3 separate regions of the Homo sapiens genome follow, and regions 2 and 3 are each linked to region 1. Evidence: promoter capture Hi-C in human tissues and cell types (Jung and others, 2019). All regions are on one chromosome and are shown on one strand. The core of a region is centred on a gene start or on the middle of the fragment in contact, and the rest is flanking DNA. Distances in the headings are between cores, read along the strand shown.

What was found. The method cuts DNA at HindIII sites, captures the fragments that hold promoters and counts their contacts. A contact is called where the count stands out against the background at its distance.
Region 2: a fragment that was not itself captured here is called in contact with the fragment with the promoter of FAM135B in region 1 in 3 of the 25 tissues and cell types used here (pancreas, spleen and stomach).
Region 3: a fragment that was not itself captured here is called in contact with the fragment with the promoter of FAM135B in region 1 in 3 of the 25 tissues and cell types used here (adrenal gland, dorsolateral prefrontal cortex and spleen).

What each region holds. Positions count from the first base shown.
Region 1 is chr8:138,495,996-138,499,274 of GRCh38, forward strand. FAM135B (family with sequence similarity 135 member B) reads right to left here and starts at 1,266. Exons shown (of 20, transcript NM_015912.4): 1 at 676-1,266. The HindIII fragment of the contact is 12,849 bases long and covers 1-3,279 here.
Region 2 is chr8:138,530,891-138,534,174 of GRCh38, forward strand. No RefSeq gene overlaps it. Among named protein-coding and RNA genes, the nearest start is that of FAM135B, 35 kb to the left of the region's middle. The HindIII fragment of the contact is 3,849 bases long and covers 1-3,273 here.
Region 3 is chr8:138,459,415-138,462,714 of GRCh38, forward strand. The region is part of intron 1 of FAM135B (family with sequence similarity 135 member B); the gene reads right to left. Among named protein-coding and RNA genes, the nearest start is that of FAM135B, 36 kb to the right of the region's middle. The HindIII fragment of the contact is 7,584 bases long and covers 1-3,300 here.

The DNA.
Region 1 (3,279 bases), core at 16-2,515:
AGAAGGGGAGGGCATAGTCTTGACTGCTAGCTCAAAATTTTATTTCTATTCCCATCCTATCCCTAATAGTCAACGGCAATAACATGATACTCCTGTGTCCCAAAATAATAACAGTTACTACTTGCCTCGTCTAAACATCCCCTCCAGTGACTGGGCTTGAAGCTGGCTCTACAGATCAAGAGCTGGTCCCTTTCCATGTCACAGCTGAGCTGCAGTGTCCCCGCACACCCCTGTCCCCAGCCAAGCCACAGGAAGAACGGGTCTGTGCATTCGCCTGGATCACAGGGAATCGCTGCCACTGTCCCCTCCACCCCAGTGCGGTCTTCTCCTGAGCCTGGCCCCCGGGTTCCCTGGCTCCAAGGACCCCAATGGCCAAGGTCTGCATGCGCCCCCTCAGCCTCCATCTGGGACTCCTGGGGGGAACCCCTCATTAACCCAGCCTCTCCGCTCCTTTCACAGCCCTGGCCCTTCTTATCCCCTCAAGACCTGTCCAGATGTGCAGCAAACCTGGAGGGCAGAGAGACTGGGGAAAATCGAGGGAGATAAACCACATTTTGCGGCGGAATCGCTGTTCCGTGACAGAAAGCCATCCAACTGGCAACCACGCTTGCAGAAGCGTCACTACCACCGACGAGAGAGTTTTGCAGCTGCCGACCCCGAAGCGCTCTCACCTACCTGTCTCCACTGCAGGGCTCCCCTCTCTCTCCCCCGGGGGCCGCGCTCCTGGGTCCCTCTCTCTCCTCTTTCGCCGTCTCTGGCCGCCAACAGTTGCGGCGGCGGCGGCGGCGGGCGGACTGGGGAGTCCGCAGCACCTGCGAGCTGGTGTTGGGTCCCCGCGGCGAGGCTGCCTGGAGGAGGAGCGAGCGGATGCTGCCCTCGCCCGCCGCCGCCGGTGCTGATGCGGTTGCTATGGTTATGGAACCCCGCAACTGCCCCCCTCTCCGTGCAACAGCTGCCCGGCCGCGGCCTCCGGGCAGCCCCAGCGAGCAGGCGCCAGGACGCGAGGCTGTCAGCGCGGTCGGGGGAACGCAGCCGCCAGCGCCGCAAGAAAGCAAGGACCGACCGGCTGCGCCCGCGCCGCTGGGCTGGCGCCTCCCGGGCTGCGCTCACCTCTGGCGCCCTCACTCCTCTCCTTCCTCCGCCGGGACGCGGCCAGACCCTCCGCGCCGCGCCGCGCGCCCTCGCGGCCGGGAGAGCCCGCCCTGCTGCTCCCGCTGGCTCCGCTCCGCAGCCGCTGCGCACCGCGTGGGTAGACGCTGCGCGACTGGCTGGCGGCGCGGCTCACGCGCTCCCACCTCGGTCCCTCTCCGCCGCGAGGCCCTGATGGGAGCCCGGGGCGGGCCGCCCGGCGGCCAAACCCCGCCCGCTCGGCCGCCCGGGTGCCCAGGGCGCAGGCTGCGGCCCCGCGTGCGGCCCTCCCAGACTGACCGGCGCGAGCATGCTCAGTCCCCGCGGCGGGGCTCCCCTCTCGAGCCAAGACCCCAGGCCTCGGGCAGGAAAAGGGTCCCTGCAGATATCCGGGGGCGGGGCGCGGCGGAGAACTGGCTGGGAGGGGACTGTTGAACTTGGAAGAGAAGCCCAGGCAACAAGTAGATGCCTGAGAAAGGGTAAAAGCGCTGAGCAACCCATACCTCCAATGCGAAGTCAGCAGTGGCCTTCAACCAGCCAGCCGGCCCGTCATCCGATGGGCTCCTCACTTCATGCTGAACGTGGGGGTTCACAGACGTGTGAGATTCTGTCCACGGAGGAGGGAGAGGAAGATTGGGGAGGGTTAAGCCAGCTCCCGTCTACTGAGCATTCTTAAGGGGCATTGGGAACTCTAATTATCACCACCACTGTGCTGGCAAGTTCTCGTGGCATGCCTGTGACAGATGACAAAACAGCCTTAGAGAAGGAGCCAAGACTGGGACTCGGAAGCCCAGTGACCCGTCCACTAGACTCGGCTGCACTAACTCCACCCAGGAGGAGGCAGGGAATGGAACCAGGCATTAGAGGATGACTATGTCCCCCATTAGACTGGGCTGCACTAACTCACACCCCAGGAGGAAGCAGGGAATGGAACCAGGCAATTGCAGTTGGCAGGAGGAGTCTCTAACCCTGTCAGGCTGGGGGCAGGGGCAAGTAATTGGGGAAAGATACCTGAAAAAAAGGTATAAGAACAAATGAGTGGGGCGGTGAAGGGTAGAGAAGACTGCTCTTTCCAGGACAAGAGGAGCAGGGTACAGAGGCCTGGAGGCAGGACAGAACAGCAGGAACCTAGCAGCAGCAGGCAAGGAGAGGTGAGGCAGGCGAGTGGTGAGGTTTACAGGGCAGGCACTGCACACCAAAGGCCTTGCGATCCAAGTGAAGGGGTTGGAATTTGACAATGTGACCCTTAGGATGGGAAGGGAATGGGGAAGGTGGTGGGGAGGAGGGCAGTGAAGCAGTTTAAGCAGGAGAAAGGCTGGGTGGGAATGAAGGGAAGATCACCTTAGTTGAAGTGTGTGTGGTGCTGGCTAGGGTGGGGATTAAGGCTGCAGAAAGAGGTGTCCTAAGGAGGCTGTTGACATAGTGGGCCTGGGCAGATGGAGGCTCTGAGCTATCTACCCTGCTTGTCCTCCCCACAGCACCCAGCAAGCCCAGGGCAATGCATACCCTCAGTAAATGTTTGGTGAATGGCAAATAAATATGAATTTCTCAATAGAGAAAATGGGTGCTTTTCTTTTACAATATTTGTCTCTTAAATGTGTTCATAACCATATGGCATTTATTTTGCTATTGACATTGCATTTTTATGCAACCTTATTTTTGAAAGTCAGTGCAAGCACTCATTATTTTCCTCTGCATTTTCTAGTCCCCAGCAGTAGAGATATGCCAGGAGCATAGGATTTACTTGTATTGGATGTATTGTCTGGATAAAACAGCTCCATGATTTATTAAGTGAAAAAGCAAAGTGCAGAATAGATAAAATAAGATAATATTAAAATAAGACAACTGTTGTGAAACAAGGAGACAGATACACATATTTGTATTGCTTGCATTGGCATAAAAATACGCTAGAAGGCTATGTAAGAAACTTGGAGAAGTAGCTATTAGCTATGAGGGTGAAGATGGGTGGAAGAACTAGGTTGACGAGGTTAGAGTGAGAGTGAGAATTTTGACATACACTATTTTTTTGTTTCTTGAGACAGGGTCTTACTTTGTTACCCAGGCTAGAGTGCAGTGGCACAATCTTAACTCACTGCAGCCTTTAACTCCTGGGCACAAGCAATCTTCCCACCTCAGCCCCTCCAAGTAGGT
Region 2 (3,284 bases), core at 99-2,598, 35 kb after region 1:
GCACAGTATTGTGGCAGGGTGACTCTGACTTGGGGATATTCTAGCCTCAGCCACCCACATGCCACAAGTAGGTCTTGTATTAGTTAGCTTGTGCTGCATAACAAAACATCCTCAAACTCAGGGCTTTAAAGCCACTATAAGTCTATGCATTGGGAAGTTGGATTCAATTGAGTGGTTCTTTTGCTTGTCTCAGCTGGGTTCACTTACGTATCTGTGAACAGCTGCAGATCAGCTACAAAGCTCTGTTTCTGGGGGCTCTGATATTAATTTTAACTATGATTATAGGGGTATGGGGGTAATGGGAGCAACAGGGGTTCTGTCCTCTTGCAAGTTACCCTGAGCTTGTTTACATGACAGTAGAATTCCAGGAGCAATAAGAAGTAAGCCCCAATATGCAGGGGCTTTTCAATCTCTGCTAATGTCACATTTGCTACAGTTCTTTTGGCTAAAGCAAAAATGTGGCCCCAAGTTCAGATTCAATGTGGAAGGGCACTACAAATGGAAGGGCAACAGGGAGGTATGTACAAATCAGGGCCAAGATACAATCGATCCATCACAGCCCTCCTTAGTGAGACCTTGACTTAAGACCAAGGAGTAAGACTGCTTTATTCATTTCTTCAAGATTCACTTGACTTCAGAAGTTTCATGGCCCTTCCGTGCATTCCTATTGATCACCTCCAGTTTACCTGGACTGCTTCCACGGATCATTACACCCCTTCTGTAGTGATCAGCTTTGCATATTATTTCTCCTGCAACAGAAGACATTTACTCCACTTGCATGAAAGAGAATAGTCAAGTGCATCTTTGCAGAACGATGAAGATGTGATTCAAGGTTATTTTTCTCATGATTGCCAAGAAGTAGCTGATGACTTCTCTTGCTTAAAAAGCCAAACAATAAGATTTCCTACCATATTTGCTATGCACTGTGAAAGTCAAAAGTCATCGTTGCATGTACCCAACTTAAAGTACTTAAAACAATATTTTTCAAAGTAACAACACAAATCAATAGAAATGTGTTGCCTCCTGTAAATAGGAAGTCCCATGGTGAAGCCTGGAGAGGACTTAATCCTAATTTGGTTCTGTTTGTCTCTATCTGGCCACGTTCATCAAAGAGACTTTTCTCATGTAGTAGGCAAAATGGCCCCCAGGAAGTCCTGCTGAAAATAAATTGTCTGCATTAGCAAAAAAATGGGTTAGTGTTCTACAATGTAATAAAACCATAACCTTTGGAGTCATCTTTTCTACAGGACAAATGTCATTTGCATCATTACTAGCAAAGGTGGACAAGTTGAAAGGAAATGCCACACAGAGTTCGATACCTTAAATACCAAATTTCAAAATGAAGCAGAGGTCAATTCCCCCAGATAATTAAATAATGACTGAGTGGACTTGATAAAAAAAAAAATGCCCCATTCTGACACTGTAAGGATTTGCTGCTCGCTCTCAGCCAGCTTTCCAAGTTTTGGATAAGTTTCTTCTATCAGTTGTAAGGTTACCACAGGGAACTCGAAGCACAATGAAAGGTTATGACAGAAATAATCATTCAATGTAGAATAATAAGATTTGGTTACTAACCTGTTAGTGACCTTTCTTTACTTTTTACTAGCTAGTACTTATGCTAGAAAGAAAGCTTTCAAATAATGTTCATATGTTAATTTAAAGTTAGCAATTCAAGGCTGGGCTTGGTGGCCCACACCTGTAATCCTAACACTTTGGGAGGCCGAGGTGGGCGGATCCCTTGAGGTCAGGAGTTTGAGACCAGCCTAGCCAACATGTTAAAACCTGTCTCTACGAGAAATACAAAAACTAGCTGGGCATGGTGGCGCGTGCCTTAATTCCAGCTATTTGGGAGGTCAAGACAGGGGAATCGCTTGAACCGGAGAGGCGGAGGCTGTAGTAAGCTGAGATCGTGCCATCACACTCCAGCCTGGACAACAGAGTGAGACTCCATCTCCAAAAACAAAATAAAATAGAGTTAGCAATTCATATATGATTAGTAATTTATGATAAGTACAGTGAGTTCAGGGTAAGCAGGTTAATTATTGCAAGGATGGATAACAAATTTAACCTCTTTTGACAAATACAGCCACATTAAATAAACAATAATAATTCATAACAACAAATAAATTTTTATAATCTAAAAGTTATAAGCAAATAGGTCTGAAGATATTTTTAAAAATAAATCTTTGAATATAACAGAAAGTTCTTTGTCCTATTAGAAAAGAGACAGAAATTAAACTTTAAGATGACAAGATACAGACTAAAATTCTGTGACTATCTCTCTTATCTTCCTGAACAAAGAATAATGGCTAAGTGCTTTGCATTTTCATCTTTTTAAATGGTCTTATACACTTCCAATGAAAACTGTGGTTTCTGATTTATAATAAAATGTTAATCAAGGCTAACTCATAAGTATGGGAGTCTCATATATTTATAGCTACATTTAGCAAGTAAAATTGACGTAGTAAAGGAAGTGATTATTAAATTCAGGTTTTTAAAAAATGAGCAGGAGCTAAGTCAGCCAGTGCTGGCAGGTAGGATAGGGAATTCCAGACAATGGGAGGAATAAGAGTCAATGCTTCCTGGTAGGTTGGATCTTGCCAAGCTTGAGGAACACAATGAAGGTGAGTGCATCTCTAGAGCACAGCCATCCATGGGCTTGGCCAGAAATAATACTGGAAACAGACTTGCCCTTCCAGGTCAAGGGCTTTGTACATTATCCTAAAATCAATAGGATGGCATTGTGGGTTTTAATACTGAGTTCAGAAGGAAGACCAGGATTAGATGTGTTTTTTGAAGACAACAGTTTGGCTACTATGTCCAATGCCAACTCTGGCCCTAGCTATACCCATTAGGAAGCAAATGAAGTCACTCTGGACAATGGGGCAGACAAATTCAATGGTCGTGGACACAGAAGTAAATGGGCCGACTTATGAAACTGAGAATTAACATAGAGAAGAGGCAAGGAAAAGCATTTAGCTGACATAGCAGAACTAGATGACAGGTTATAAATACATGAATTACAGGAAGAATTCCACCAACAGACAGGCTGTTTTGTACTGCAAAAGAAATTTTATGTAAAAAATTTCAATTTTTGTATTAACTGGGAAAAATCAGATTTGTTAATATTTGAATGACAATTTTCTTTGGCAACTATTTGCTGGAGTTGATAAGTGGCTGACTTTTACACTAGAAAAACACTCTGCATCATCATCCTCCCAAGGCCAATGCACCCTTTATTGTATTACCCTACTTCCTGCATGGATTCACCTACCTAGCCCTAT
Region 3 (3,300 bases), core at 131-2,630, 36 kb before region 1:
AAGGCACTTCAAAAAATCCTCCATGTCCGTGACAGTCTGTCACTAGAGAGGGCGTTCCTCAGATTATCAACAACCATGAAGCTCTCTAATGCCTTATCAACAGTCTCAAGGACCAGGCGATCATGAGAAACACAGGCTGTATTGATTCAATACTCAAACTGGCGGGATGATGATGATGAATGGTCAGTTTTTCTCTGTCTCATCCTCTTCAAGGATAACTCCACCCTGAACCTCAGCTCTTTCCAGACCCTGACTCAGATCTGGACTGAGGTAGGGCTCAGACTACTGCAGAAGGGGCCCTGGCATTGTGCAGCCAAAGCTCCTATACTCAGAGAGCTTGGGTTTTCCTGTTTCCTCTTCCAAGCTATGGCAAAGGGAACTGGAGAGATAAGAAGCAGGCCCCCTCTGAAAGTCTGTGAGTCACTTTAAAATAGAGATTGGCCATGGACCCTGGGTCCAGAATGCATCAGTTTAAATCCCAGGCAGCCTAAGGGAGTTACTTCACCCATCCTTGTACTCTGCTCCATCAGCTGTAAAATGAATAGAACCATAGAACTTTCCTCCTCAATTTGAGATAAGGATGATCTGATTTAATATATGCAAAAGCACTGTGAATAAGGCCGGCCCATAGGAAGCATCCTGTAAGGATTAACTATTGTTTCTTTGCTGTACCAATAGTTTAAGCCCTTTCTTTGGGTGATACACCATGCTAAGCAGTTTCTGTTCATTATCCATTCCACTCATTATCACATTTATTACTAGAAGGCAGACACAATACCTACATTTTGCAGATGAGGACGCTGAGGCACAGGTAAGGGACATAATTTGCTTAGAGGCACATGGCTAGTAAGCAGTGCAGCCAGGAATGGAAGATTCCATAGACTGTCTGGCTTCAAAGCCTATGAGTTCAACAACCCAGTGCTATGCTGCAGTGCCTGAGACACCCACAGCCCCAGAAGCTAAAGCCTTCTTCCAAATGCAAAACAGCAGCCTGGAGGGTGAAACACACCTACCCTGGAAGTGAAGATAAAGGGACATGGCAAAGGTCTCAGAGCCAATTCACACCAACAGGGCCTTCACCCAAACATGGCAGGGACTGTCTAACCCAAGAGCTGTTTATTCTCAGGCCTCCCCATGCCTCAGAGTATACATTTGTGCCTGCTTCAGACTATTAAGATTGGGGAAAAGAAGACAGTTATTCATTCTCCAGCATTTCTTCCAGGATGCTCCTCTAGGTGACTCCATTTTGACTAATGAAATAAAAGAATAAATATTCTGGGAGGCTTCTGGAAGGATTTTTTTTTCTATAAAAAAAGAACAGACAAGGAAGAAAAATGGCTGGTGCTGCACTCCTCTTTTCTTCTTCCCTGAACAGAGATGTGACGTTGGGAGCTGTGGTCATTCTACTGCAACAATGTGACAACAAGGCAATAGCTAAGGACGGCAAAGAATAACTCCACCCTGAACCTCAGCTCTTTATAGACCCTGATTCAGATCTGGACTGAGGTAGGGCTCAGACTCCTGCAGAGCGGGGCCTGGCATCATACAGCCAAAGCTCCTGTATTCAGACAGCTTGGGTTTTCCTATTTTCTCTTCCAATCCACAGCAAAGGGAACCGGTGAGATAAGGATCAGATGCTCATTTAAAAAACAGGGAGTTAATCCTTTGTTATAAGTTTCTTTTTTTTAATGTCAGTCACTGGTCACTTCCAGGCTAGTTAAATAAACAGGAGTTGAAGCCACTATTAGTCATGGATACTCTTACGTTAAGCTGACAGCAGTCCTGGCTCACACTGCAAGGCAGCTGAGATATGCAGGGGTGTTAAGCACACACCTGAGCCAGGAAGTGGACCAGGGTGCTGGGGATGCATCCTGGTCATCAAGGAAACAACTCACCAATTCTCATTTGTAAAATAAGGAAATAAAGCCAGATGTCAGCAAAGGTCTGTTTCAGTTCTAAGATGTTATGACTTTTTGTAGTGAAGAGATTACAAAAATTCCTTTCCAGAGGATTTGAGAAGCCCAGTGACATGATGAAGGCAGAGTACACACACAATAAATTACCACAAACATATTTAAACATGACCTCAGGATTGACATTTAACTTCTCTTGGTTTTCAAGTCCATGTCAAGGTATGCAAATGAAATGTTAAGCCAATACTCTAATTCTGTAGAGCTAGCTATTTAGCACCTGTGCAAGGTTCCTTATACATATTGCATTTAACCCTGAACAGAACACTATGAAATGAATAGGATCACTCTCTGATAAAAAATGAAGCTCAGACGTCAGTAGTCTATGTAAATCATCCTAGGACCTCACAGACAACCATGACTATTGGGATTTAAACCCAGGCCTGCCTTCCTCTACAAGACATAGCCACATTGGCACTGTCCCTTGATTTCTTTTTAAAACCAGCACATACTCAAAAATGCTGATCTTCTCTCTGTATCGTTCAACCCACGAGGGTGGGAGAAGGTTGCTAATAACCGCCCACCCAGAGCAGCATGATTCATGTGGCTGTCATCCTGCCCGAATGACACAGATGAGCTGTCAGCCTTCTCTCAGAAGCCTGACTCAACTCTATGACCAGCTGAATCAATTATCCAAGGTTGGCTTGATAGATGATGATAATAATGATGATGATGATAATGATGATGATAAATCCATCAATGTAAATACTTCCAGAAACAAAGTAGAAATGAGAAGAAAAAGAAAGAAAACAAAGTATTGCATATCTATGTAATATGTTATACATTAAAAGTATTCCACATATATGTATATATGTACATATATGTGGAATACTTGTTTTCTTTCTCTTTCTACTGATTTCTACTTGTCATATACCAAAGGCCATTTGGGGACAACACATTGTTCCATTGATCTTGGCATTTATTTTTGTTTTCGTAACTGTGCAGAATACTTTCCTATTTGGTAGAGCAAGTTACATCTAAGTTCTTTCAAGGATTCATGAGGGTGGGATAAAGGTTCCAGTGTTCTGCTATGAATGAAGTCAACTCCAAGGGAGGCAGTTTTATTGCTGACTGCATATTTTTAAAGAGAGTCAAGAAAGAACTCCAGAGCTGTGGGTTTCCAACTCTCACCCAGAGGGTGTGCAGGTCCTAGAATGCTACCTGGAGTCACTGGGGAGAGGAGGGCAGGGTAAATGCCAGGACAACTGAGCCAGGCTCAGGACCCCAACTCATGATTTAACCCGAGTAGCTCTTCTCTGTGTCCATTTTCTACATAGGAGTTTTCTGTTCAACATCATTTGAAAAAAAGGGAGTTGGTGCCTTTTAATAT